3 separate regions of the Homo sapiens genome follow, and regions 2 and 3 are each linked to region 1. The links are contacts of gene promoters, found by promoter capture Hi-C in human tissues and cell types (Jung and others, 2019). All regions are on one chromosome and are shown on one strand. Each heading gives the region's core, a stretch centred on a gene start or on the middle of the fragment in contact. The rest is flanking DNA. Distances are from core to core; before and after follow the strand shown. Region 1 holds the start of AURKB (aurora kinase B). Region 2 overlaps NDEL1 (nudE neurodevelopment protein 1 like 1). Region 3 has its middle 21 kb from the start of ALOX15B.

The links. Contacts are between HindIII fragments. The study calls those that stand out against the background at their distance.
Region 2: a contact is called between a fragment that was not itself captured here and the fragment with the promoter of AURKB in region 1, in 1 of the 25 tissues and cell types used here (hippocampus).
Region 3: a contact is called between a fragment that was not itself captured here and the fragment with the promoter of AURKB in region 1, in 1 of the 25 tissues and cell types used here (liver).

Annotation. Positions count from the first base shown.
Region 1 is chr17:8,208,155-8,213,292 of GRCh38, reverse strand. AURKB (aurora kinase B) reads left to right here and starts at 2,718. Exons shown (of 9, transcript NM_004217.4): 1 at 2,718-2,763; 2 at 3,044-3,116. The coding sequence starts at 3,069. RefSeq lists enhancers at 3,216-3,265, 2,827-3,486. The HindIII fragment of the contact is 18,109 bases long and covers 1-5,138 here.
Region 2 is chr17:8,442,839-8,447,976 of GRCh38, reverse strand. NDEL1 (nudE neurodevelopment protein 1 like 1) reads right to left here. Exons shown (of 9, transcript NM_030808.5): 2 at 3,620-3,717; 3 at 2,113-2,266; 4 at 1,075-1,223. The coding sequence starts at 3,705. Among named protein-coding and RNA genes, the nearest start is that of NDEL1, 9.5 kb to the right of the region's middle. RefSeq lists a silencer at 3,189-3,389. The HindIII fragment of the contact is 4,225 bases long and covers 1-4,168 here.
Region 3 is chr17:8,057,936-8,063,073 of GRCh38, reverse strand. No RefSeq gene overlaps it. Among named protein-coding and RNA genes, the nearest start is that of ALOX15B, 21 kb to the right of the region's middle. RefSeq lists an enhancer at 4,880-5,138. The HindIII fragment of the contact is 4,380 bases long and covers 252-4,631 here.

The DNA of each region.
Region 1 (5,138 bases), core at 1,469-3,968:
CAGGCTAGAGTGCAGTGATGCGATCTCAGCTCCCTGCAACCTCCGCCTCCCAGGTTCAAGCGATTCTCTTTCCTCAGCCTCCCAAGTAGTTGGGATTACAGGCGCCTGCCACCACATCCAGCTAATTTTTGTATTTTTAGTAGAGACGGGTTTCACTGTGTTGGCCAGGCTGGTCTCGAACTCCTGACCTCGTGATCCACCCACTTCAGCCTGCCAAAGTGCTGGGATTACAAGCATGAGCCACCGCGCCTGGCCAGAACTGGCTAATTTTTTGTATTTTAGTAGTAACGGGGTTTCACCATGTTGCCCAGGGTGGTCTTGAACTCCTGAGCTCAGGCAATCCACCCTCCTTGGGCTCCTGAAGTGCTAGGATTACAGACATGAGCCACTGCGCCCTGCCCATTTTTTGTTTTTATTGAGACAGGGTGTCACTCTAATGTCGGGGCTGGAGTGCAGTGGTGCAATCATGGCTCACCACAGCCTTGACCTCCGGCCTCTGCTGATCCTCCTGCCTCAGCCTATCAAGTAGCTTGGACTAGAGGCACACACTACCATACTGGCTAATTTTTTTTTTTTTTATTTGTAGAGACGGGGTTTCACAGGTTGCCCAGGCTGATCTTAAACTCCTGGGCTCAAGTGATACAGCCGCCTTAGCCTCCCAAAGTGCTGGGATTACAGGCGTGAGCCGCCAAGCCTAGCCATGGTTTGTTTTTTCTACACAATATGCTTAAACAGCAAATAGCATTTAGAATGCATTCAGAAAGGATATTAGCTGAATAATAATCTTCTCTATTGTTCATGTAAGAAAAGTGCTAACGTAGGCATGTAGAGGCTCAACAATGTCATCAAGTCCTGAAGTTCTTTCCAGGCCTCTCTTCTGCCTTCTGCAATGTTAGGCTTCAATGTCAAGCTGCTTCCTTCAGTAGCACTAGAAGCAGCAATGAGGGCTGCATGCTTCCCTGCTCACTTCCAGAAATCTCTTCCTCCATACCTTGCCCTATACATCTTTTCATCTATATCATTTGTAATACACTTTATGATAAACCAGTAAACGTTAAGTGTTTCCTTGAGCTGCCCAGCATTCTGAGCAAGAAACTGATTCCCACTAGCTGGCCCACTTAAATCACAGGCTTATGCCTGATCCAATAACCATAATCTGGAATAAAAGGTATTGATTAGTATAAGTTAATTGGGGCTCATTTCTGGACCTGCAATGAAGTCAGTTTCCTTCTCAAATCCTCAAAACTCTAAGTGCTTTCAGAAGTGGGAATAAAGCTGGGCGCAGTGGCTCACGCCTGTAATCCAAGCACTTTGGGAGACCAAGGCGGGCGGATCACCTGAGGCCAGCCTGAGCAATGTGATGAAACCCCGTCTCTACTAAAAATACAAAAATTAGCCGGGCGTGGTCACATGCACCTATAATCCTAGGTACTCGGGAGGCTGAGACAGGAGAATCAGTTGCACCCTGGAGGAGGAGGTTGTGGTGAGCTGAGATTGTGCCATTGCACTCCAGCCTGGGCAACACAGCGAATCTTCATCTCAAAAAAAAAAAAAAAAGTGAGATTTAAATAGGTCTTCATCAACCTAGGGATTTGGGGTTGTCAGCAACAGAAACTACTACAGAAACCGACTGCATAGACTGGAGAGACAGGTGGTCCCCTAAAGGAAAAATAGAGTGTTAGAAGAAAGGAGAAGAGTGCTGGACAGTACATACTTAATAAATATCCACTGGTTATTTCATAGAAGGCCCAAAAATGTATTTATTTAACCCAGTAATGAAATCTGAGGGTTAGGAAGAGCAGAAAAGAAGGAAGTGTGGCAGGAAGGAGGAAAAATGAAAGTGGGCCCAAACAACACGGCAGCTAACAGAGATCTTGCAACGAAAGGTCTATTGGTGGAAAAACTCCTCCCAGGAATGTCAGAACTTTTAAGAACGACATAGTAATGACACAAGAATAAACACACAGGCAAATGAGCAAACAACGGAATACAAAGTCTAGAAATAGACACAAGTAAATATGCTAACATTATATATCAAGGGCAGCATTTAAATTCTGTTGGGGCAGTTTGTTTAACAAATGGTGTTGACATAACTGGCGCTCCATCGGGCAGAGAAGTTAGACCCCAGCTCATACATGCATAAGGATAAACTCCAGTTACATTAAAGATTTAATTTTTTTTATAAAAAGAAGAAGGCCGGGCACGGTGGCTCACGCCTGTAATCCCAGCATTTTGGGAAGCCGAGGCGGGTGGATCACCTGAGGACAGGAGTTCGAGACCAGATTGGCCAACACAGCGAAAACCCGTCTCTAATAAAAATACAAAAATTAGCCAGGCGTGGTGGCGGGCGCTTGTAATCCCAGCTACTCGGGTGGCTGAGGCACGAGAATCGCTTGAACCCGGGAGGCAGAGGTTGCAGCAAGCCCAGATAGCACCATTATACTCCAGCCTGAGCGACAGAGAGAGACCTGTCTCAAAAAAGGAAAAAAAAAAAGAAAAGAAAAAGCAAGATAATTCACTGGGGGAATTTGGGGAAACTTTCCTAAACTGGAAGCCAAGCGTGAGCCCTTCTCATTCCGCCTCTTCCATTGGGTTCCCATGACTTACGTCACAGGACATCGAGCCAATGGGAACTAGGCATGGGCGACGAGCTTGCCCAATGGGGCCGGGGCGGGAGATTTGAAAAGTCCTTGGCCAGGGCGCGGCGTGGCAGATTCAGTTGTTTGCGGGCGGCCGGGAGAGTAGCAGTGCCTTGGACCCCAGGTGAGCTGGCCTCCTGTCGCAGGCCTTGCGCCGGGAGTGGGCAGATGATCAGGTAGATCAGAGGGTCCGTTGGGCTGGCCTGCGCGCACGCCGCAGGGCTGGAAGGAGGTAGGGACGATAGCAGGGCGGGGGCGGTGAGACCAGCGCCCAGATTGGGGCTAGTGTGCTGACCTGCTCCCTTTTACCAGCTCGGGCTAGCGCTTCCGGCTCGATCGGTCCAACCCCTCCCTCTCTCTCTCTTTTTCTCTGCTTCTCACGGCTGTTTCCCTTCTCCGCCCAGCTCTCCTCCCCCTTTCTCTCTAAGGATGGCCCAGAAGGAGAACTCCTACCCCTGGCCCTACGGCCGACAGACGGTAAGGCCCTTCCCTCCGTCCCTGCGCCCCCATGACCCCGCATGGCGAGTTCCTGCTGGGAAACTTGAGATCCTGCAATGAGCAATCCTTTAAGCACTTTCTTCCCCGTTATGCTCCAAAGTACGGGTCCCAAGTTTGACGACAGAACCCGCTCTGGTCATTTGTAGCCACATCCTGTCAGGTGCTGCCAACGTGAATCTGACCAGCCAGTGACTCCCAGCTGGTGAGGACCTCTGCAGGGCTCGTCACATACAAATGATATCTGGGACTGAGCAGGCAGGGCCTGGCCTTCAGGCCATGATTCCCAATCCATATCCTGAAAAAAAAAAAACTAGACAGCAAATAGAAATAGACTCTAAAAGGATATAAAGTTACAGTTTAAAAGGCCCAGGGCAAGTCTAAATTACAATTTGGAATTAATGACTAAATTGAGGTAAGAATCTAAATGGATCTAAATTGACTTATTTCCCAATGGTCCAGACAGATTTCATTGAAGGGCCTCCTCTCTGATTTGAAATGCCACCTTTATTATATATATAAATTCCCACATATATGTGGGTCTATTTCTGGACTGTATTTTATTCAACTTGCTTATTTGTAGATTGGTACCAATATCACTATTTGGGGCCTAGGGGCTTTCTTCTCTTGGCTGCAGAAGAAGGAAGGGGCCCTGCACAGGCTTTGCTCCCTGTTTTTGGAGCTCTTGCTTCCTGGAGAGTCTGTCTGTTCCCTTGTACATCAGCTCCCTCCCTCATGGAGCACTGAGTGAGGCTGTCAGGAATGGAGTCTGAATGAGAAACCATTGTCACTTTTACCTTAGTCACTCCTAAAAGAAAATGTACCTATTATTTTGAGAGTTGAAAGTGAGGCCAGGTAGGTGGCTCACGCCTGTAATCCCAGCACTGGGAGGCTGAGGCAGGTGGATCACCTGAGGTCAGGAGTTCGAGACCAGCCTGGCCAACATGGTAAAACCCCGTCTCTACTAAAAATACAAAAATTAGCCAGGCATGTGCCTGTAATCCCACCTACTCAGGAGGCCGAGGCAGGAGAATTGCCTGAACCTGGGAGGTGGAGGTTGCAGTGAGCCGAGATGGCACCATTGCACTCCAGCCTGGGTAATAGAGCGAGACTCCATCTCAAAAAAAAAAAAAAATGAAGAAGTTGAAAGTGAGAAGTGGTCCAGGGCCATCAGGGTAGCTCTTAGTGTCCTTAAAGCCTGTTCTTGCAAAAGTGTAAATCCTGGTTATTGCTATAACATTCAAGGCCTCAAGCATCTTATCTAAGCCTTAATAAACTAAGCTTTTTAGGAGACTTTGAGAATACCTCTGTGCTAAACCCCTTGAATTGTGGGTGTTCATTGACGCAGCTCTCTACTGTGGTGTAAGTGAGGGGCTGGATGAATGACTGTGTTGTTATGGACAGGACTTATACAGGTTGAACAGCTTCATGCCTGAAAAGTGTGGGCCAGGGCCAAAGAAGTGAAATGTTAGGTGTTGGTGTGAGTCCTTTGCCCCTTATCTTAGGCCTACTTAGGTTATTTATTTTTTATTTATTTATTTATTTATTTATTTATTTATTTATTTTTTGAGACGGAGCCTCACTGTGTTGCCCAGGCTGGAGTGCAATGGTGCGATCTCAGCTCACTGCAACCTCTGCCGCCCAGGTTCAAGCGATTCTCCTGCCTCAGCCTCCCGAGTAGCTGGGATTACAGGCGCCTGCCACCACACCTGGCTAATTTTTTTTTTTTTTTTTGAGATGGAGTCTAGCTCTGTTGCCCAGGCTGGAGTGCAATGGTACGATCTCGGCTCACTGCAACCTGTGCCTCCCAGGTTCAAGCGATTCTCCTGCCTCAGCCTCCTGAGTAGCTGGGATTACAGGAGCGTGCCACCACGGCCAGCTAATTTTTGTATTTTTAGTAGAGATGGGGTTTCACTGTGTTGGCCAGGCTGGTCTCAAACTCCTGACCTTGTGATCCGCCTGCCTCGGCCTTCCAAAGTGCTGGGATTACAAGCATGAGCCACC
Region 2 (5,138 bases), core at 807-3,306, 240 kb before region 1:
CTCCCCGCAACCAATCTGGCTGCTGCCTCCTCTATGCCCTGGAGCAGCAGCTTGCCCACTTTTTTTTACTAGGGTATTAACATAGTGAATGTACATATCTGTCACCCCCAAGGGTAGTGACCAGACTAGCTCCGCATCTGTAAGTTTAGCATCATGTCAGTCACTTAAGACTCACTGGATAAATATTAAGGAAGGAAATACCAGGAAACAATTATAAAGTAATAGGAATTAAGTTTGGAATGGTTAAGAAACAACTAATTACACATGCATAAAAGTTTGGCAACAGTGATAGCAAGCCACTGCACGTTGTTCAGAAATTTGAACTGAAATCAACATTTTAAGAAAATTCATCAGTCAGTATTAAAAGAGAATAAAAAGGAACAGAAATATAAAGATATATCAGCTAGAGGATAACTACAGAATCCAGGTATAAGATATGAGGACCTACAGGAAGTATGGAAGTGTTAAGAGCACAGAGGGAAGATGGGGGAATGCATGAGACAGTTTAAAAAATAAATAAATACACAAAACCTAGGCTGGGTGCAGTGGCTCATGCCTATAATCCCAGCACTTTGGGAGGCCAAGGTGGGCAGATCACTTGATGGCAGGAATTCAAGACCAGCCTGGCCAACATGGCAAAACCCCGTCTCTACTAAAAATACAAAAATTAGCTGGGTGTGGTGGCACATGCCTATAATCCCAGCTACTTGGAAGGCTGAGGCACAAGAATCGCTTGAATCTGGGAGGCAGAGGTTGCAGTGAGCCGAGATCATGCCACTGCACTCCAGACTGGGCGACAATGTGAGACCCTGTCTCAAAAAACAAAACAAAACCAATAGGATCAACCACAGTATATGAAAGAAGGAAAAAAGAAAAATTGAAAGAGAAAGCTTTGAAGGGCGTTATCTGGGAGATGAGGATTTGGGGTTCCCTTCCGTCCGATGAGTTACAGGTGACATGAAACACCAACAGGAAATGTTCTGGGACTAAGATCTAGGGGAAGAGCCTAATAAAGATTTTAATCACTAATTACCAAGGTGGTTTTTTTCTAACAAAATGCAGTCATTCGTTTACCTTTTGGCTCGCTCCAGGTCGTCGTTGGCCTGCTCCAGCTCTCTCACATACTTATGCAACTGCTCCTTAATGGCCCGAGTCTGACTTAAATCATCTTCTAACACTGAGACCTGCTTATAGCTCTGTGCATATTGATGCTCTAGCTTCTCCTGAGGGCATCAGTATAGGAAAGTACATGTCATTAATATACAGTTCTCTTTACTAAAGAGGTAACTCAAGTTAAAAGGGTGGGGGGGAACCCAAGGAATTTACCCACACTCTTGTAACAATTACTTTAAAAACAACTAAATGACACATTCATTCTAAGTGCCTAAACTCATGTTAAATTTTGTCAACCATTCTCCTCTCAGAAAGAAACCCAATAACAATCTCTCTGAAAAGAACTAATATAAAAAATCCTTGCCTCAAAATCCGCAAACTTGTTAAGGAAACCTCTGGATTTTCAGGCTAAATGCGGCCCAGGGTAAGCACAGAGTTCACATTCCCTACCTTTCACCTGCCCATCCAACCTTCCCAGAACCCACCCACTCCCCAGACACTAAATACCCTCAAGCATGTGGCTACAGTAGATGGTAAAGGGCAGAGAAAGGGGTGAATCCTTTTGCTCCTGAAAATTCCTTTTTAGAAGGGAAATTTTTAACCCTAACTAAACTCCAAAACTGAAAGGGCTATGAACAATAATGAAATAAATGCATATTCCCTATCAATATAATTGTAAACATACTGCAGAATGAGGCAACCTATCTGTCAAAACAAATAATCAGGCAGCTTTTGAAAATTATAGGAACTATAATATAATATAGCTAGGAACATTATAGCTAGAAAAGTGACAACTACAAAGTTTCTAAGTGAACTCCTAAACTCTAAACCACCTTTTCCCCTGGTTCCGTGAAAGAAAACATTTTATTCAAAAATTCACTTTAAGCGTTTTTTTCAAACTATTTTTTGTCGCCAGCTGCTCTTAAGCACCTGAAAAACATATTTCTCATTTTAATAAAACTCAACACATTAGACCCCAGCGTCTACTGCTGCAATTACCTTTAATGCCTCCACTTCATATTTCAGTCTTTGGTTATCAGCCTGCAAGTCTCTATTTCTTTGTTCAGCCTGTACTAATTGTGCCTCCAACTCTGCTTCTAATTCTCTGCTTCCTTCCTGGAATTCAACTAGCTCATCCCGAGCTTCCTGGAAGCTAATCAGAAACAAAGTGGGAAAGACGAGTTACACTAAGAACCACAAGGATTGTCTTGGAGGTGATTATAGAGCAATTCGATAATTTTTGCTTGAATGCTAATGCTCTCATAAAATATACTAAAGACAATCTGTTTTGCATCTCTTACTGTATATATTCAGGGTTCAATGAAAACGACAAGCCCAAAAAGGAGCCACAAGTCAGTGATTACAATATTTATGAAAAGTAAGGCTACGTGGCTCAATACCATTAGCTTCTTCCACCACAGAACTCAGATGCGAGAAAAATGCATTTTTACTTTCATTAAAGTAACAAATTTGGCATTTCCTTCTACCATATTCAACAGAAATCACACATATTTTCACATCACAATAGAATCGTTGCATGTATCTCTAAATATATTTATTTTCATGACTATTTCAAAATTAGGTAGTTATTACATTCACTTCTGTATCTTTTTTTATTTAATGCATTAATAGAGAAGTACATGTTACTATGCCATAAATTAGTTTAATATTTAGATAACTTTTTTCAATATAATTGATTTTCTTTGTAATTCTATTATTCTATGCATTTAAAAATATTATGCTGAGGAGTCCACAGGCTACCCCAGCCCATTAAGACATCTATGACACAGAAAAAGATTAAGAACCCTGCCATAGATACACACCTTTCATATCCACTGGCACAATAGAATAACTGACTTCGGTGATAATAATGAAAGGGCAGTAAAAGGTTTGATAAGACTTAGTAAACTCTGTTAACCAAAATAGGAAAATGTATCAATATTTTATTTAGCAAGATCCCATTTTTAAAAAAGAAATTTGAGACAAGTTTTGTTGCTTAAAAGGTTGTTGCCTGAAAGTTCTCCCAACCAAATAACTGAAATTTTATAAAACGTTCCATGCCCCTGAAGCTTCTCCCCCTCCCTCAAAGCTTTGCTGGCTCCAGACACTGATCATGCTTGCCTGAGGAGAACGTAAAGTCTGTTCTATGGAGCCCCAGACAGCTTATCAGAATCTCCAAATGACCAAAATGATGAGGCAGAATCAGTGCATGCAAAACGGGCCAAAGATGGCCCCGCCTACTAAAAAGCATAGAACAGGTAACAATCAGAAGAAATCATAAATGACAGTTTTCCTACTATTTTAATAATTTGAACAATATAAAGACTTATGGCATGTTTACACTATTTAAATACAACCCATGTGGTGACTGTTTGTAGAATCTCAATCCTAGAATCCTAAATCTGCAATTCTAAATTTAGCTTTATGTTAAAAAGAAAAATGCACAAACAAGACACGGTGTATTCCAAATGCCCTCCCCTACTTTTAGTGTGCTTTCCAACATTACCTTTGCTTATACTTCAAGGAAAGTTCCTTCCAATAAGCAGTTTCCTCCTTTAAACTTGAAAAATCTGGTATATCTTCACCATCCATGATCAAGAAAGCCTGTGAAATATTAAAGACAAACTTAACAAATTAGAGAACAGAGAAATCTAAGCACAAGCATAAAATCTGGGACAACACTGAACTGCAGCATTTTGGAGGGAATAAAACATGAGAGATTCCAGTGGTTAACTCTCTTCAAACTCAGGCACGTCAATCACTCCACTGCTCCACTCTCAGGGACCACCAATATTGTGAATGAGATCATGACAAAGGTCCTTTGATACAAAGCGACAGGAGGCACTTTTGGTTGCAGCATAGGCGCTGGGTGACTTGGGCCCACAGAATCATCCTGCACACAGAGTTGCAGCAGTTGGTTTAAGGCCACGTGGTCTTCTGCGAATCGGGAGACAGAAACAAGCTTATTGTCAGAGATGCTGCTACCGCATGCATGCTGCCCTTCCCAGGTATACAACTGCTTCAAAACATCTGCTTGGAACATTTTATGCCAGGTGACCCTACTAGAAAATCAGGCACCACATTCCCAATAATTTACTATTATCAAATCTCTAAAAACCTCCTGTTAATCATCTTTTAAGTCCAAAGCTTCCTTCCAAAAGCCCACTAATCTCCAACTTCAATGATCTCTCTCTCTCATCCTGGTTCTTCTCTCCCAAGGCATTCAGAGAGGAGAAAAAAAGCGATTTAATTAACTAACATTTGGACTGGCTACCTACAACTCCCAACTGATCGTCAGGCCCACTCTAGAGGCATGCCTACTGCTTCCTAGCACCCCCTCCCCAGGCATCCCACTCTATATTCTGGCAGTACTGTTCGAAACTGTCTTAACACACCAGGCTCTTTCAGGCATGGAAAACTACTCCAGGTTTTCTCTACCTGGAGTGGCTCCCCTAAATAGGAAAACTACTATTTATCCTTAAAACCTAATTGTCATCTTTTCCAGAGAGGTTTTCTTGCCCTCAACTGGACAGCATTAAAATCTCTTGCATTCTTTGCTACCTCTGTACCCCACACATGCTTTCACTGATATTATTACCACAGGGCAATGCATTTGCTTACACCTTTGTGTTGCCTGTTAGGCTGGCTTACTTATTTCCGTCTCAGCCCAATGCCTGCACAATAGTGGATACTCAATGATATTTACTGAATTAAACCATAATTGATTCAACCTATTCCATACTAGGCAGCAAGAACTCAAGACCAGCTTTAAAAGTAAATTAATAGGCTAGGTGTGGTGGCTCATGCCTGTAATCCCAGCACTTTGGGAGGCCGAGGCGGGCGGATCACGAGGTCAGGAGATTGAGACCATCCTGGCTAACACGGTGAAACCCCATCTCTGCTAAAAATACAAAAAATTAGCCGGGCGTGGTGGCAGGCGCCTGTAGTCCCACCTACTCGGGAGGAGAATGGTGTGAACCCGGGAGGCGGAGCTTGCAGTGAGCCAAGATTGCGCCACTGCACTC
Region 3 (5,138 bases), core at 1,192-3,691, 150 kb after region 1:
CAGAGAGACTTACCGCCGTGGTGATTACCATCAAGGCAGCCAAGATCATATTACCCGGTGTAATCGCTAGTTGTTTCTCCTTTAGGGTGTCCTCTGCCAATTGAGTCAGCTTCTTTATCTGTCCCCATGTCAGTGGTGTAGCCTAGCGAGTCTTCTCCGTCTTCTGTTTTTTCTCCGAGACGCTCAGCTTCACCATTTTCCTCAGCTCCCGAAAAGACAGGTCGAAGGGACCGGTCTTCTTTCTCTTTTGATTCTTTCCTTTTTTCTGACCGGTCGGTGTAGGGTTCATTGTAGAATTTTAAATGTCTATTGGGTATCCAAATGAGTGTTTGATTGTCTCTTGGTGAAACACAAGGAAAACCCCTCCCCCAAGTAATACTTTTTCTTAATTTCCAAGTTTTGGTTCTGGTATCCTTCCACCAGACCATTTTTCCTTTCTGTGGCACACCCATGACTGCAAAACAAGATAATAAATGTCGTTTTACGTGAGCTGTGCTTTCTCCAGTTTGGCGTGTAGCCCAGATAAACCGAGAAAAAGTATTAACAGTAACATGTACGAAAGAAAGTTTTCCGAATGATGGGACATGAGTCATGTCCATTTGCCACACTGCATTTGGTTGAAGCCCCCTAGGGTTACCTTCAGGTTTTTGGGTGGGTAGCTGTAGCACTTGGCACTGAGGATGTTGTACTATATTTTTAGCTTGTTTCCAGGTAAATGAATATTTATTTTTTAATCCAGCAGCATTTACATGAATTAGGGAATGGAAGTTTTGAGCTTTTGTTCGCGTCTGTGTGAAGAGACCACCAAACAGGCTTTGTGTGAGCAACAAGGCTGTTTATTTCACCTGGGTGCAGGTGGGCTGAGTCCGAAAAGAGAGTCAGCGAAGGGAGATAGGGGTGGGGCCCTTTTATAGGATTTGGGTAGGTAGTGGAAAATTACAGTCAAAGGGGGTTGTTCTCTGGCGGGCAGGGGCGGGGGTTGCAAGGTGCTCAGTAGGGGAGCTTCTGAGCCAGGAGAAGGAATTTCACAAGGTAATGTCATCAGTTAAGGCAGAAACCAGCCATTTTCACGTCTTTTGTGATTCTTCAGTTGCTTCAGGGCATCTGGATGTATACGTGCAGGTCATAGGGGATATGATGGCTTAGCTTGGGCTCAGAGGCCGGACACTGTTAGAACAGGCGTCACTAATAAATTTGCTTGATTATTTAATAGGGTTAAAGGTCCTGGTAAGTTTGTGTGAGCCTAAATATGTGTAATATAAAAGGGAAAATTTTGAGTCCTAACTGCTTGTTGAAGTGAACTAAACAAGAAATTTAACTGATCATCAGAAATATGTTTTACTAAAGCTGTTTTTACCATTTTGGCAGCTTGGAATACGTAAGCAGAGTCAGAGATTATATTAACAGGTTGATTACAATCTTCCAATACAGATATAACTGCTTGTAGCTCAGCTCTTTGTGCAGAATGAAACTGAGTTTGAATAATCTTTTCTTCCGGTCCTGTATAAGCTGCTTTTCCATTCTGAGAGCCATCAGTAAAGATAGTTACGGCTCCCTCCAAAGGAATGGAACTAGTTATTTTGGGTAAAATTTAGGTAGTCAATTTTTAGGAACTGAAACATTTTAGTTTTAGGGTAATGAATATCTATACTGCCAACAAAATCAGCCAGATTTGACTGCCATTCTGACGAATTAATAAAGGCTTGTCGAACCTGTGCTTTGTTTAAAGGAACTACATTTTTATCTCGATCGGTGCCAATGAGTCTGACTATTCTCAGTTGTATTTGGCCTATAAGAATAGCTATTTGATCTAAATAAATTGAGAAAGTTCTAGTCGTACTGTGCGTTAAAAAGGACAATTTAACTAAGTCAACATTTTGAACAATCACTCCTATAGGAGAATGGAGAGTAGGGAACACTAAGAGCTGTAATGGAACACTAGGATCTCTTCTACGGACTTGAGCACTTTGAATTTTTTCCTCAATCATTTGTAACTCTTCAGCTGCAGCAGGCATCAGAGTTCTTTTGCTACATGAATTTGGATCCCATCTCAGCAAAGCAAACAGTTTAGACATTGCTTAGGTGGGAATTCCTAAAGTAGGTCTTATCCAATTAACGTCCCCTAATAATTTTTGGAAATCATTTAAGGTTTTTAAGGACTCTTTACGAATTTCCTCCTTTTGAGGCTTTACTGTTTTCTCCTGTACCCTCATTCCCAGGTAATGATAGGGTGTAGTATGGATTTTATCTGGTGCTATAGCGAGACCTGTAAGTCCCACCACTTCTTGTAGCCTAGCAAAACACTCAATCCGTCTGTCCCTGCTTGCAGCAGCACATAAAATGTCATCAACATAATGAATAATATAGCAATCAGGAAACTGATCCCTGACAAGCTGAATAACCTTTCCAACAAAAGTTTGACTATTTAACATTCCTTGGGGTACAACTTTCCATCGATATATAGTAGCTGGTTCCTTGTTATTCATGGCAGGTATTGTAAATGCAAATTTCTCAAAATCCTGAGGAGCCAAAGGAATAGTAAAAAACACAATCTTTTAGATCAATTATTACCATCGGCCATTCTTTTGGGATCATGGCCGGAGATGGCAACCCTGGTTGGAGAGCTCCCATCGGTTGAATGGCTGCGTTAACCGCTCATAAGTCGGTCAATATGCGCCATCTAGCGAATTTTTTCTGAATTACAAAAACTGGGGCGTTCCATGGTGAAAAAGATGGTTCAATATGTCCTTTGTCTAATTGTTCTTTTGCCAATGAATGTAATGCCTCCAGTTTTTGTTGAGGAAGCGGCCACTGATCAACCCAAACAGGTTTTGGAGTTTTCCGTTTTAATGCAATGGGCTTTGGAGGCTCAACAGTGGCCGCACCTAAGAAGGATATCCAATTCCTCTTCGGTCAAATTTAACTGAGACCTCAATCGGCTGGGTTATTCCGTCCTCATTTTTTTCCTAATCCTTTCCCAGGAATATATCCCATTTTGGTCATCATTCTTTGGCTCTCAGGACTGTAAATTGCAGGGGGAATGGTGATTTCTGTACCCCATTGCTGTAACAAATCTCTCCCCTACAAATTAATGGGAATGAAAGTAATCATAGGTTGGATGGTGACTTCCTGCCCATCTGGTCTTAAACGATGTAAAATTGTAGCACTTTGATAGACTTCAGATGCTGTGCCTACTCCAATCAAGCCCATAGAAGCCTTTTGTCGGGGCCACGCTTTTGGCCACTGATTTAGAGCTATAATTGAAATATTAGCACCTGTGTCTACCAGTCCTTCAAACTGTTTTCCCTGAATCATTGTGCACACAGGTCTGTTTTTAGAAGCTTGATTTACTCAATAGGCTGCTTTTCCTTCACTGTCAGTACTGCCAAAACCACTTTCTCTTTTTACTGTACTTTTTTCTACTATTACATAAGGTAATAACAACAGCTGAGCAATTCTATCTCCTGGGTTTGCACTCCAAGGAATACTGGAACTAATAACCAATTGAATTTCTCCCACAAAATCTGAATCAATCAGCCCAGTATGAATCTGAACTCCTTTTAAGTTTAGACTAGATGTTCCTAAAACAAGTCCAACTGTCCATCAGGTAAAGGGCCAAATACTCCAGTGGGGACTTTTTGAGGGGATTTCCCTGGAAGCAGAGAGATAGCTTTTGGGAAACATAAATCTAAGCCTGTACTCCCTGCTGTAGCTGGCGCCAATTGTGTTACTGTGGTGGTTGGGCAAGAGACAATGATGGTGGTTGGACTAGAGGCAATGACCGACTGAGGGACCAACTGCTGGAGTGAGAATGCCCCCGTTTGGAGCGGGGCCTGAGGCTGGCCCCTCTTCCTGTTTCCCGACTGCGGTTGTAACGGTTGGCCATTTTTGTCAAATTTGAAGTGACACTGATTAGCCCAATGTTTACCCTTCTGGCACCTGGGACATAAGCCAGGTGGTTCTTTTATTTGATTATATCTTGCCTGTTTGTTCGATTTGTTCTTACGTTCCTTTTTTGTGTGTCCAAATTGCCCACAATTGTAACAATTGCCTGAAAAGTTTTTAATTGGACCTCCCACTTTTAACTCTGTCGTGGCTTGAACCATTATCATAGCCTTATGCATGATTCCACCAACTCCATTACATGCCCTGATATATTCATTAATCACATCAACTCCCACCGGAACCTTTCCTTTCACTGGGTGAATAGCTGACTGGCATTCAGGGTTAGTATTCTCACAAGCCAATAATTCTACAATCACCTTCCTGGCACTTTCTTTCTTTCTTTCTTTTTTTTTTTTTTTTTTTGAGGCGGAGTTTCGCTCTTGTTACCCAGGCTGGAGTGCAGTGGCGTGATCTCGGCTCACCGCAACCTCCGCCTCCTGGGTTCAAGCAATTCTCCTGCCTCAGCCTCCTGAGTAGCTGGGATTACAGACATGTGCCATCACGCCCGGCTAATTTTTATATTTTTAGTAGAGACGGGGTTTCTCCATGTTGGTCAGGCTGGTCTCCAACTCCCGACCTCAGGTGATCCGCCCACCTCGGCCTCCCAAAGTGCTGGGATTACAGGCATGAGCCACCGCACCCGGCCTTCCTGGCACTTTCATCAGTGAGAGCCTTCTGTGCTGCGTCTTGAAGGCGAGCAATGAAATCAGGATATGGTTCCTTTGAGCCTTGTCTAATAGAATTAAAAGACTGATAAGTAGTTCCCAGATCCTGAATTTTCTCCCATGCCCTCAAACAGCAATTGCGAATTTGTTCAATGGCATCATCTCGAAGTCCTGATGGTTGTTTACAGTTCCCCATTGACCCCCTATTCCTAGAAGTTGTTCAAATGTAATGGCAATAGCAGGATTAGCAGCACGGTTTTTTCGATCTTGATTTTGAGCCTCGTCGGTCCACCAAGTCTTAAACTGAAGAAATTGGGAGGGCGAAAGTGTAACTTTCGTTAAAATCTCCCAATCACACGGAGTCAATAGCTTATTCTGAGCCACAGATTGCAATAGCGATCGGATGAAAGGCGAATTGGGACCATACTGACCAACAGCTGCTTTAAGATCTTTGAGCAGCTTAAAAGAAAATGGTTCCCATACCGCTTGATGGGCTCCACCTTGCTGTCGTGGGGGTTGCAAAACTAC